Regions from separate parts of the Homo sapiens genome. Here region 1 is linked to region 2. Evidence: promoter capture Hi-C in 16 types of primary human blood cells and fetal thymus (Javierre and others, 2016). All regions are on one chromosome and are shown on one strand. The core of a region is centred on a gene start or on the middle of the fragment in contact, and the rest is flanking DNA. Distances in the headings are between cores, read along the strand shown. Region 1 overlaps RNF11 (ring finger protein 11). Region 2 holds the start of FAF1 (Fas associated factor 1).

The links. The method cuts DNA at HindIII sites, captures the fragments that hold promoters and counts their contacts. A CHiCAGO score of 5 or more calls a contact.
Region 1: a contact is called between a fragment that was not itself captured here and the fragment with the promoter of FAF1 in region 2, in 1 of 17 cell types (monocytes). The highest score is 6.5, in monocytes.

The regions. Positions count from the first base shown.
Region 1 is chr1:51,269,264-51,274,607 of GRCh38, reverse strand. It overlaps RNF11 (ring finger protein 11), which reads right to left. Exons shown (of 3, transcript NM_014372.5): 2 at 4,483-4,652; 3 at 1,161-3,457. The coding sequence ends at 3,286. Among named protein-coding and RNA genes, the nearest start is that of RNF11, 36 kb to the right of the region's middle. The HindIII fragment of the contact is 2,254 bases long and covers 2,806-5,059 here.
Region 2 is chr1:50,956,454-50,961,695 of GRCh38, reverse strand. FAF1 (Fas associated factor 1) reads left to right here and starts at 1,429. Exons shown (of 19, transcript NM_007051.3): 1 at 1,429-1,929. The coding sequence starts at 1,885. It also overlaps a transcript of CDKN2C not described here. RefSeq lists silencers at 1,463-1,622, 1,733-1,782 and an enhancer at 2,093-2,142. The HindIII fragment of the contact is 1,270 bases long and covers 1,271-2,540 here.

The DNA of each region.
Region 1 (5,344 bases), core at 2,683-5,182, 310 kb before region 2:
ATGCCTGGCTAATTTTGTATTTTTAGTAGAGACGGGGTTCACCATGTTGGCCAGGCTGGTCTCAAACTCCTGACCTCAAGTGATCCAACTGCCTTGGCCTCCCGAAGTGCTGGGATTACAGGTGTGAGCCACCAGGCCCGGCCAAGATTAAGTGTTTTTTAAAAACTGTATTTACAAAAGTTGTTATAGATTGTAATAAAAGTCACGTGAGGCCAGGCGCAGTGGCCCACGCCTATAATCCCAGCACTTTGGGAGGCCGAGACAGGTGGATCACGTGAGGTCAGGAGTTCAAGACCAGCCTGACCAACACGGAGAAACCCCGTCTCTACTAAAAATACAAAATTAGCCGGGCATGGTGGCACACGCCTGTAATCCCAGCTACTCGGGAGGCTGAGGCGGGATAATTGCTTGAACCCAGGAGACAGAGGTTGCAGTGAGCCGAGATTGCGCCATTGCACTCCAGCCTGGGCAACAAGAGCGAAACTCCATCTCAAAAAAAAAAAAATTATGTAACTGTGGTATCTCACTCTCAAAATACCTTTTTGCACCATAGTGTGTGGGTATGTGAAATGGCAGAAACCGTGGATAAGGGGGATTACTGTACTTTATTAAGTGTTGCTCCTTTTTAAAAATGAATGCTTCTTTATGAAGATTTGTATGCAGGGGATCTGTTATCTCAATGCTTACTATTGCATGAAATCATACTGTTTTATATCACATGATAAACACCAATAGCAGGGGGCGAGTCTTCTAGTACCGACTGAGGAGATTCCCTATCAAGAAACTCACAGAATTTTTTAAGTTTGTGTTAGGTAAACTACAAATATCTGAAAGTATTTCAACTTGTTAGGTTTTACACTCAAAAGGATAAGATTCTTTTGTTTCTTCCTGGTTAGGCTTTTTAGAAATTTCAAATCCCACAGCCAAGCTTGGACATATCTTGCCCATATCTAAATCAAGAGATTATAGCTATTGTTTGGTTTTAGAAACTTTGGTGCTATCAAGCCTAAGTATATGATTAAATGATATTAAATGCCAAACAATAAAAAATACTTCCCACAGGTATATATAGAGAGAGAGATTTTAAAATAATCATACACAACTTTTTAAAAGATTATATGGGGAATACTTACTTATGTAATCAACTCTAACTTTAGCCCTTCACAGCTGTATTATAACTTTATTTAACAACTTAGTAAAAGTCAAAATTGATGGTTCTTAACATTGTATGTTGAGAATATAAAGTGCCTAAAAAAGACACATTCTGCCCAATGCTAGTTCTTTCAATATTACCACCAAACTTCTGTGAAAGACTTGTAATGAAAAGAAAGACTAACTGCAACATGGAAGATGATTTTTAAAAAAGTTCATTTGCCAATTTTAACAATCTAGAAAAAAAGAAAAGTCTGACTATAATACTTGATGACACAGACATTATGTTTAAGTAGAAAACACAAGAATAAAAAAAGCAATTATCAGAAAATATTGCACAACTTCAGTTGTTTCCTCCAAATTTGCTTTATGTACTTGGGTGGATATAAATTAATAAACAGAAATTTAAGCAAGATACATGTAACAATTTAACAGAACCTGATAATCTAATTTCTTTCAATTTTTCTCAAATTCATCTTTAAGTCTTTCCATCATGGGGCTCATAAGGAAATTTAAGCAACATATGGATACTACAGTTGAATGTCAAATCTTTACAAAGTACTTATGACATACTACATTCCTCTATAATGCAATTATGAATAACCTTCATGACACTGTGTTTTGTATGTAGAAAACTGTTAGAGTTCAATATTCAACTCAATATAAAATAATAATAAGAAACACTTCTGATGTTAGGTTGAGACCACTTTTCCTTTTGCTAATGAATGATTTTTTTAGCTGTAATATCACTGAGGTGAACCAATAAGTCACCTTTGAGTACATATGAAAAAATAAACACATGCTAAATGGATAAAACATTACTACTACATCTTTACTAGACCATCTCTACCTCTAACACTTCAGAAGCTTAGAGATTTAAAGTATTCTTACATTAACTGCAAGAAACAAAGGAGAAATTCCTTCTTTTTTGAGATCACAACTATGAAGTCATATGGTTATACAAATTCTGCGTTTGTGTGCAAAACATAAAATACAATTATCTTTATTCTCCCTGCTTAGTTTTGTCAGTCAGCTAGCAGGATGTAATAGATACCTTTCCAAGAAACAGAGACTGAGATGTGTTTTGTATAACTTCAATAACCTCAGCACTACAGTAATGAGAGATGCAGTATCCTTTTGCTATGGTTCAAGACAAGAGGCAAGGAGGTCAGAAGAAAGAGAATAAATCAAAATTTTTACAACTGAGTAACTATTTCTCATTAGGTCTCACCACGGTGCCACCTTCATTTTTACATAAACGTGGTGGCATAATTCAATCTCAATAAATCAGAATTCTTAATATTTAAAATTTAACTTGACTTTCCATTATCACCATATTAACAACCAAAATAATTAGATAAAACACATAGGAAAGGGTAATATTAAACCCCACCTTAATAGAGTTGGTTTCTTGACACATTAACTTATTTTTTATAGAAAAGGGATAGTGCATCTCAGTTTGCTTACAAGCTAGGAGATCACTTTGAATTCTGCATTTCCTAACTGCAAACAGAATATAGCACTTATAACAGGTTATAAATAAACTGGTTTTCAAGCATAGAGCCAGCCCCAACGATAATAATACACTATTTAAAAAGACCTAAGGCAATGAATTCCATTTCCAATGGAAAAAAAGAACTGTGCAAACAAGCTTAAAACTACTTTTTTGTGTGTGCCAGTGTTATAAAATGTAGCTTTTAATAAAACCTTGACCCAAATGCCAGCAACTTCAGAAAAGAATTCGGGTGGGGAAGGGGAAGAGAAGAAAGTTATTTCATTTAGGAAAAATAACTACTATCTTTTTCCTAATCTTCAATACACACAATTTAAACAAATACAGCTGCTGTTAACACTTTACACAATTCCTATGTACTGGAGCAATAACAAGATCTAAATACAATTATATTTTTAAACATTGGGTCAAGGCTTTACATAAAAATACCATCCTACTTTTCCCACTAAGTTTCTAAAATATCACGTACTTTTTCCCCCAACATCTGCAGCCATCCAGGAATTTTAAGGAAACTTTTGTGCACGATCTTAATTCCTAATCCCTGGCTCTTTGGGCTCAGTGACAAAAGATCAAAACCACCAAAATGGTGGTTCACTTGAAGTCAGATAAGAGACCCTGGCTCAATTAGTCTCATAGGATGAAAGCAGTGCTGCATCAACTGGCTCCATGCAGGAGGGGCACGTGAAGGATCTCATCAACCAGTCATCTATACAGTCCAGGTGATAGATGTGCATGCACGGCAGAAATCGAATTGGGTCCCCATAAACAAAGTCCATCATACAGATCACACACCTGTTGAGAGCAATGGAGAGAAATCAGAAGGCATTTTCAGAAGTGTCCTATTCAGAAAACTCTTTAAATCCCATTAAAGACAGTGTTAATCTGAGTAACACATCAGAATGCTTTGCCTGTCATCTTATTGCCAAAGCATGCAAACTGAATTTTTTCCTAATGTTGATCTGTCCACAGTCTCTTATTTCAATCCCCTGAGAATTTGCAGGACTTAGGAGCAATCAACAGAGCAAAGAGAAATGGATTACATATGCATCAAATCTACTGCTGTGCTTGTAAACAGCTACATATTATAGCAGATACCTGAAGGAGAATGGGATTATTTTAGGTAGAAAAGCATCAGTTAGATCAACTTTGTTTTCTTGCACTATTTAGTGTAATCCTGGACTAAGACAATTTTCATTTTAGTAACTGTAAAACAGAAACACTAACTTCGGGCAACTTTGTTTCCTTGTGCTATTTAGAGTAATCCTAGAGTAAGATAATTTTCATTTTAATAACTGTAAAAACAGAAACACTAACTTCAGCCTACTTACTGGGTTGCTGTAAGTTAAAGCTCTCTTCATTAACACTAACTTTCTCTTATTTTACTTTATTTTACTTTTTGAGACAGAGTTTCAAGTGATTCTCCCACCTCAGCCTCCCAAGTGGTTGGGATTACAGGCGCGTGCCACCATGCCTGGCTAATTTTCGTATTTTCAGTAGAGATGAGGTTTCACCATGTTGGCCAGGTTGGTCTCGAACTCCTGGCCTCAAGTGATCCCCCGACCTCAGCCTCCCAAAGTGCTGGGATTACAGGCATAAGCCACTGTGCTCGGCCTGTGAAAATTCTTAATTACTACATAACATTCTCTTGCTAGTAGCCAGTAATAGAGCTATGAAAAAAAATTAAACATTCTCTTGCATTAAGCGAAGTGTTTCAATATATTAAATGTCTGACTTTCTAAAGTGCAGGAGAAAAGGCAAATTTTTCAAAAGCAATCTGAAAATAAAACTTTGAAATGTACAAATTAATTAAAACTTACTCCCGGATCTTTTTTTCTGATCCATCTCTTCCAGGGTCATAAACTCCTTTAGGCAGATGTTGTATAAGACCTATTCTTTGAGCTATCCTAATTTGTTCCTCTTCAGTCAGCTGAGTTGCTAGCCGAGTCTGGCTAGGTGTTGGGTGGTAGACTGGAACTGGAACTTGTTCCTAAAATATTAAAATATAGAGGAAAAAGATTATTTTTTAAAAACCTTTCGAGGGCTTATTTTTTGGTCAGAGATAGAAGGGAAAGGGAGCCCTGGGAGGGGTAGGAAGCTGGGCTAGTGTTTGGCTGTATGACTGTGTTTCACCCTGCCTTAACTTCAGCTACTAGAATAAAACATACACACACCAAAACATTCTCATTCTGCCTAAAGGATATAAACACAGACTTCACTGAACTGGCATGGAATGTTAAATGAACTATTTCCACATGATAAGAGACCAGCCTGGACAACATAGCAAGACCTCATCTCTAAAAATAATTTTTAAAACTTTTTAAATGGACTGGACTATGGCAAAAATAAATCTAAAAGTTATCTAAGACTAACTTTCCCATTTCATAGGACCAAGCTTGCCTACAGTCACTAATTGACAATACTGAAATTAGAATTCTGCTGCTCCTAATCCAACTGATTTTTTACACAACAAAACAATTCAAAGGAATCGTGTGTATAACCCCCACCTTTTTTTGAGATAGGGTCTCCCTCTGTTGCCCAGGCTTAAGTGCAGTGGCACAAACACAACTTACTGTAAACTCAACCCCCTGGGCTCAAGCAATCCTCCAACCTCAGCCTCCTGAGTAGTGGGGCCACAGGGTTGAGCCATGGTGCCTGGCCTATAATAATATTTAAAACTGA
Region 2 (5,242 bases), core at 180-2,679:
CAAGTTTAAAAAGTTCTTAAGGGAAGCCTAGGCCTTCATGCTACATGATGATTTCACTAGTTATTTTAGCTCTACAGGATAAAATCAGCAATCTTACTTCACATTTTCAAGCTTTTACATACTTTCCAAAGCAAGTAAATGCCCCATGACAATCCAGAAGCTGATATTTTCCCAAGTCAAGGATGAACAACTTCCACTGTCACACTTTCTCTAACCTGGACGACAATTACAAACTGTCACACTTCATTGTACATAGTCTTTGGCTGTTTTAGTTACAGAGGTTGTCAATTTCTGACCATGGGTTGAAACTTTCAATATTTGGTGAATATTCCAAAATAATTTCTTATGAAAATGAATAGGCCGGGTGCAGTGGCTCACGCCTGTAATCCCAACACTTTGGGAGGCCGAGGAGGGCGGATCACGAGGACAGGAGTTCGAGATCAGCTTGCCCAACATAGTGAAACCCCGTCTCTACTAAAAATACAAAAAAAACTTAGCCGGGCTTGGTGGCGGGAGCCTGTAATCCCAGCTACTATGGAGGCTGAGGCAGGAGAATCGCTTGAACCCAGAAAGCGGAGGTCGCAGCGAGCCGAGATCGCGCCACTGCACTCCAGCCCGGGCCACAGTGCGAGACTCCGTCTCAAAATAATAAATAAATAAATAAATAAATAAATAAATAAAAATAGACTGACTATATTCAAAGCTGGATTCAAGTTTTATCCCATTTGTAAGATGTCTCAGCTTAAAAAAACAAATATAACTGCAGCAGTAGAAAGGTTTTCCCTTTTTTCCCCCTTTGGAGCAACCCTATTAACTCGAGGTTGTTATTTCTCATAACTACCTTATCAATTAAAAAAAATGCTCCTCCTCTTCTCTGGAACGAGATTTTTACCTTTCTCAGCTTCCTCGTCTCTCCCATGTCTACCATGGCAGTCTGGTTACTTCTGTGTTACGGAGTCTGAGGATGCAGACGTCAGGGAGCTTGGGACTGGGTGTGACAGTGTGGATTCGGTTTTGACAGGTTGAGCGTGAGAGACTATATGAAGCTGTATTTTGCTGAAACATTGTAGAGAAAAACATATATTTCTGAAATGCTGTTTGTTAGACGAGTTGTAACAGTGTGTTTAGTTGGTTTGTGAGGGTGGTGTGTATTTGTGTGACTAACCACGTGAGGTGCACAATCTGGTCCCCGCCTCAGCTAGGGGGAGGCGCTATCCTGAGGCCTTTGCTTAAATCCAAACTGGAATAACCTGTTGCGAGACTTGAAGCTTCCGCAGCTGCAGGTTGCAGTCTCTGCCGCCAGCGCAGAGATCCTGGCCGGGTAGTCGCGCGCTCAGCGCTTGACAGGAGGGTGGTCACGTGGAGCCGCAAAGCGGCGCTTTGCGACCTCGATGACAGGCAAAATGTGCGACAGCCGTGGCGCTGGCCAACCAGGGGCGGAGGCGGCGGCCAGGGAGGAAGCGGAGGAGGCGGAGGCGGCCGCGGCGTTCGCCCGCCCGCTCGCTCGCTCGGTTTCCCCGCCCCCGCCGGGCTTAACGCCGCTGAAGGTATCCGGGTGCGCGCTGTCGCAACCTGCCCTCATCCTGGCCCGCGACTGTAAGACCGGACCCACATCCAGACCAATCTTCCTGTCCGGGCTGCTGCGACGCGGGCTCCGCAGGTTGCAGGCGGGCGGCCGGGGCGCCTGAAGGTTACCGAGTGCATGAGCGCCTAGCGCTTCCCGCGCTGCCCCGCCCGCTGGCCCGCCGACCCGCCCGCCGGCTCGCCCGCCAGCCCCTCGGCGCCCGGCGGCGGCGGCGGCGGTGGCGGCGACGGTCGCAGGAGGTGCCGTCTGCCTCCCAGGTGCGCGCTTCGCTCCCGGAGCCGCGGAACTCGGCGGCCGCCATGGCGTCCAACATGGACCGGGAGATGATCCTGGCGGATTTTCAGGTGAAGTATCTGGCCCTCTTCCCCTCCCACTTCCAACCTCGTGGGTTTCCGGTGCCACAAGGGAGTCTTCTTCCCAGCGTTTGAACGCTGCAGTGGTGTGTCATTTAGGCTTTTATACGGTGCGTGGCGTGTGTGTGTGTGTGTGGCGAGCTATGGAGAAGCGTATAATTTATATGCTATCATGAGTGTGTAGAATGTGTTAAGTACGGGTTGAATGGGATTGGAGGTATTAATGACTTGGGTTACAATGTGTGTGGAATGTGTAGTGTTTCCTGTATTATATGGGGGGACGTGTAGAGTTTTTGTTTTAATTGGTGTTGGACCATTAAGTATGGGATGTTTTGGGTGGTTCTGTGGGGAGAGATGTATGGAGTGTGAGCGTGGAGCGTGTGGTGTTATGGGCGTGGTGTATTTATATTGTATTAAGGGAAGAGTAAAAAAGCAGAATGATGAGATGGCGAGGGCAATGACAATGGGGTACTGAGGTCCTTTTCAAAGAGGAGTAAACATTTGAGACTTTGCCTAATTGGAATCTTTGGAGGGTAAGAAGATAACAAGGAGACAGATAAGACTATATATTCCAGAGTATCTCTGCAATGAATTCACAAGCTTAATAAATTACCTATTCATATTTGCGGATTCCCCTCCCCTACAGACTTGAATTGCTTGGTTGGTGTCCTTTCTCCAGGAATACTTTAAAGGATAAGTAAAGGCTGTTCTCTTAATAAACCCAGTCGTAGTGCCACTGACATGTAAGTATCTTAGGAAGGCCCTTTGAAAGTAGAACTGTATGCATTGTGAAAGACTTGGAGCTAGAACTAATATCCTGTGAGTGCTACCTTTGCCTTTTGATGTTTGGTGAAGGAATTATTTTAGTGAGATATTTTTGGCCATTTTGGCATCAACTTAGAAGCTACTGTCAAGTATAGGCAGACTTTTCCCTCTTTTTTAATACTCACATTGCACAGGTTCTAACACTAGCTTAGTAGGCAGTATTTTTCCTTGCTGAAATTTTGTTGGGCTTTTCTCTCTCTCTGTTCTATTAAGTTCCTTATTTTTTTTAAAATTAATTAATTTTTTTTTTTTTTTGAGACGGAGTCTCGCTCTGTCGCCCAGGCTGGAGTGCAGTGGCGCGATCTCGGCTCATTGCAAGCTCCGCCTCCCAGGTTCACGCCATTCTCCTGCCTCAGCCTCCCGAGTAGCTGGGACTACAGGCGCCGGCCACCACGCCTGGCTAATATTTTTGTATTTTTAGTAGAGACAGGGTTTCGCCGTGTTAGTCAGGATGGTCTTGATCTCCTGACCTCGTGATCCACCCTCCTCGGCCTCCCAAAGTGCTGGGATTACAGGCGTGAGCCACACTGCTCCCGGCCCTTATTTTTACAAATTAACGTTCAGATAACCATTTTCAGAGTTTGCTGTTTTGGTTACCCAGTGAAATCTGATATACAGGTATTAGGAATATGCATATATCTACAGTTTGATTAAACCATAACCTCCAAACTAATAAAGGAGTGTCCTTATAATAAAAGTTGACCATAAGATTTTGATGTTTTGTAGGTTTAGGATTGGCCTGAGGCTTTTTGCCTGCCTACATTTTAAAAAATTTTTCAATTAATTAATTAATTAAATTTTTTAGAGATGGGCCTTGCCATGTTGCCCAGGCTGGTCTTGAACTCCTGGGCTCAAGTGATCTACCCACCTCAGGCTCCGAAAGTGTTGGGAATACAGGTGTAAGCTCCAACACCCAGCCCTGCCTAAGTTTTTCATCATCGTCTTTTTGTTTTGTTTTTGTTCTCCAGTTCCATTTTTTATCTAATGTGGAATGCACTGTTTGAAAAAGGACTCTATATTTCAAGGTGTAGTTTTACCGTGTTACAAAATTGTCTTCTGATTTCCCTCATTAAAAACTTTATAAAGTAATTATAACTTTGTTTTAATTTTACCTTTTTATCTCTAATAACTTGCATCTGCTTTCTATTTTTTGTGTGTGACAATTATTATGCTTAACTGTTAACCTTATATTGGCTAAAGGACAGGAAATTTAGGCTTCTTGTACTCAGGCAAAGCAAGATTTTCCAGGGATTTTGGTTTGGAAATGAAAATGAAAATTTCGGCCGGGCATGGTGGCTCAGGCCTGTAATCCCAGTACTTTGGGAGGCTGAGGGGGCGGATCACGAGGTCAGGAGATCAAGACCATCCTGGTGAACATGGCGAAACCCGGTCTCTACTAAAAAAATACAAAAAATTAGCCGGTCGAGGTGGCGGGCGCCTGTAGTCCCAGCTACTCGGGAGGCTGAGGCAGGAGAATGGCGTGAACCTGGGAGGCGGAGCTTGCAGCGAGCTGAGATTGCGCCACTGTACTCTAGCCTGGGCGACAGAGCGAGACTCTGTCTCAAAAAAAAAAAAAAAAAAAAAAGAAAATGAAAATTTCGATCCCATTAATAAGATGGGAATAAGTTTTTCTCTTCAGACCAATGGTAATGCTATACACAATTGTTTAAAAATGGGAAAAATAGAATGGCATCTGCAGTGAACAATTGTTTGCCTAATAATGTTAATTTTATATTGTCAAATAGGTAAAAGAATGTTATTGATAGAAGAAAAAATTATTTGGAAAACTACACACCTTAAACACATTAGCCATTTGTGTGTTTAGGAACCTGGAGTTCTCTTACAAATGATCGTCTTAGTAAAAAGTGATGATTCTTCCTGTTTTTTATATTATCTCAATTTTTATAGGATTGACTTAAAAGTAAGCATTTATTCAGTTATAAGAAAACCAGGTAATTTATTTATTTACTTATTTATTTTTTCTGAGATGGAGTTTCACTCTTGTTGCCCAGGCTGGAGTGCAATGGCATGATCTCGCCTCACTGCAACCTCCGCCTCTCGGGTTCAAGTGATTCTCCTGCCTCAGCCTACTGAGTAGCTGGGATTACAGGCATGTACCACCATGCCCAGCTAATTTTGTATTTTTAGTAGAGATGGGGTTTCTCCATGTTGGTTAGGCTGGTCTCGAACCCCCGACCTCAGGTGATCCACCTGCCTTGGCCTCCCAAAGTGCTGGGATTACAGGCATGAGCCACCGCACCCGGCTCAAATCATTTAATTTAAGGATTGCAGCTTAAGACTTGGCATACGGATACTTGGATGACACTGATTTCTTCTGTAACTGGGCAAATCAGTTTCCTCACCAAAAGTGAATATGGTAAAATTACATGTTTATATCATATGATTGTGAGACTCAATAATAGTTTGAGAGCTCAGTATTATCTTTGTAGGAAAGACATAATTTCCAAATTTGATTAGA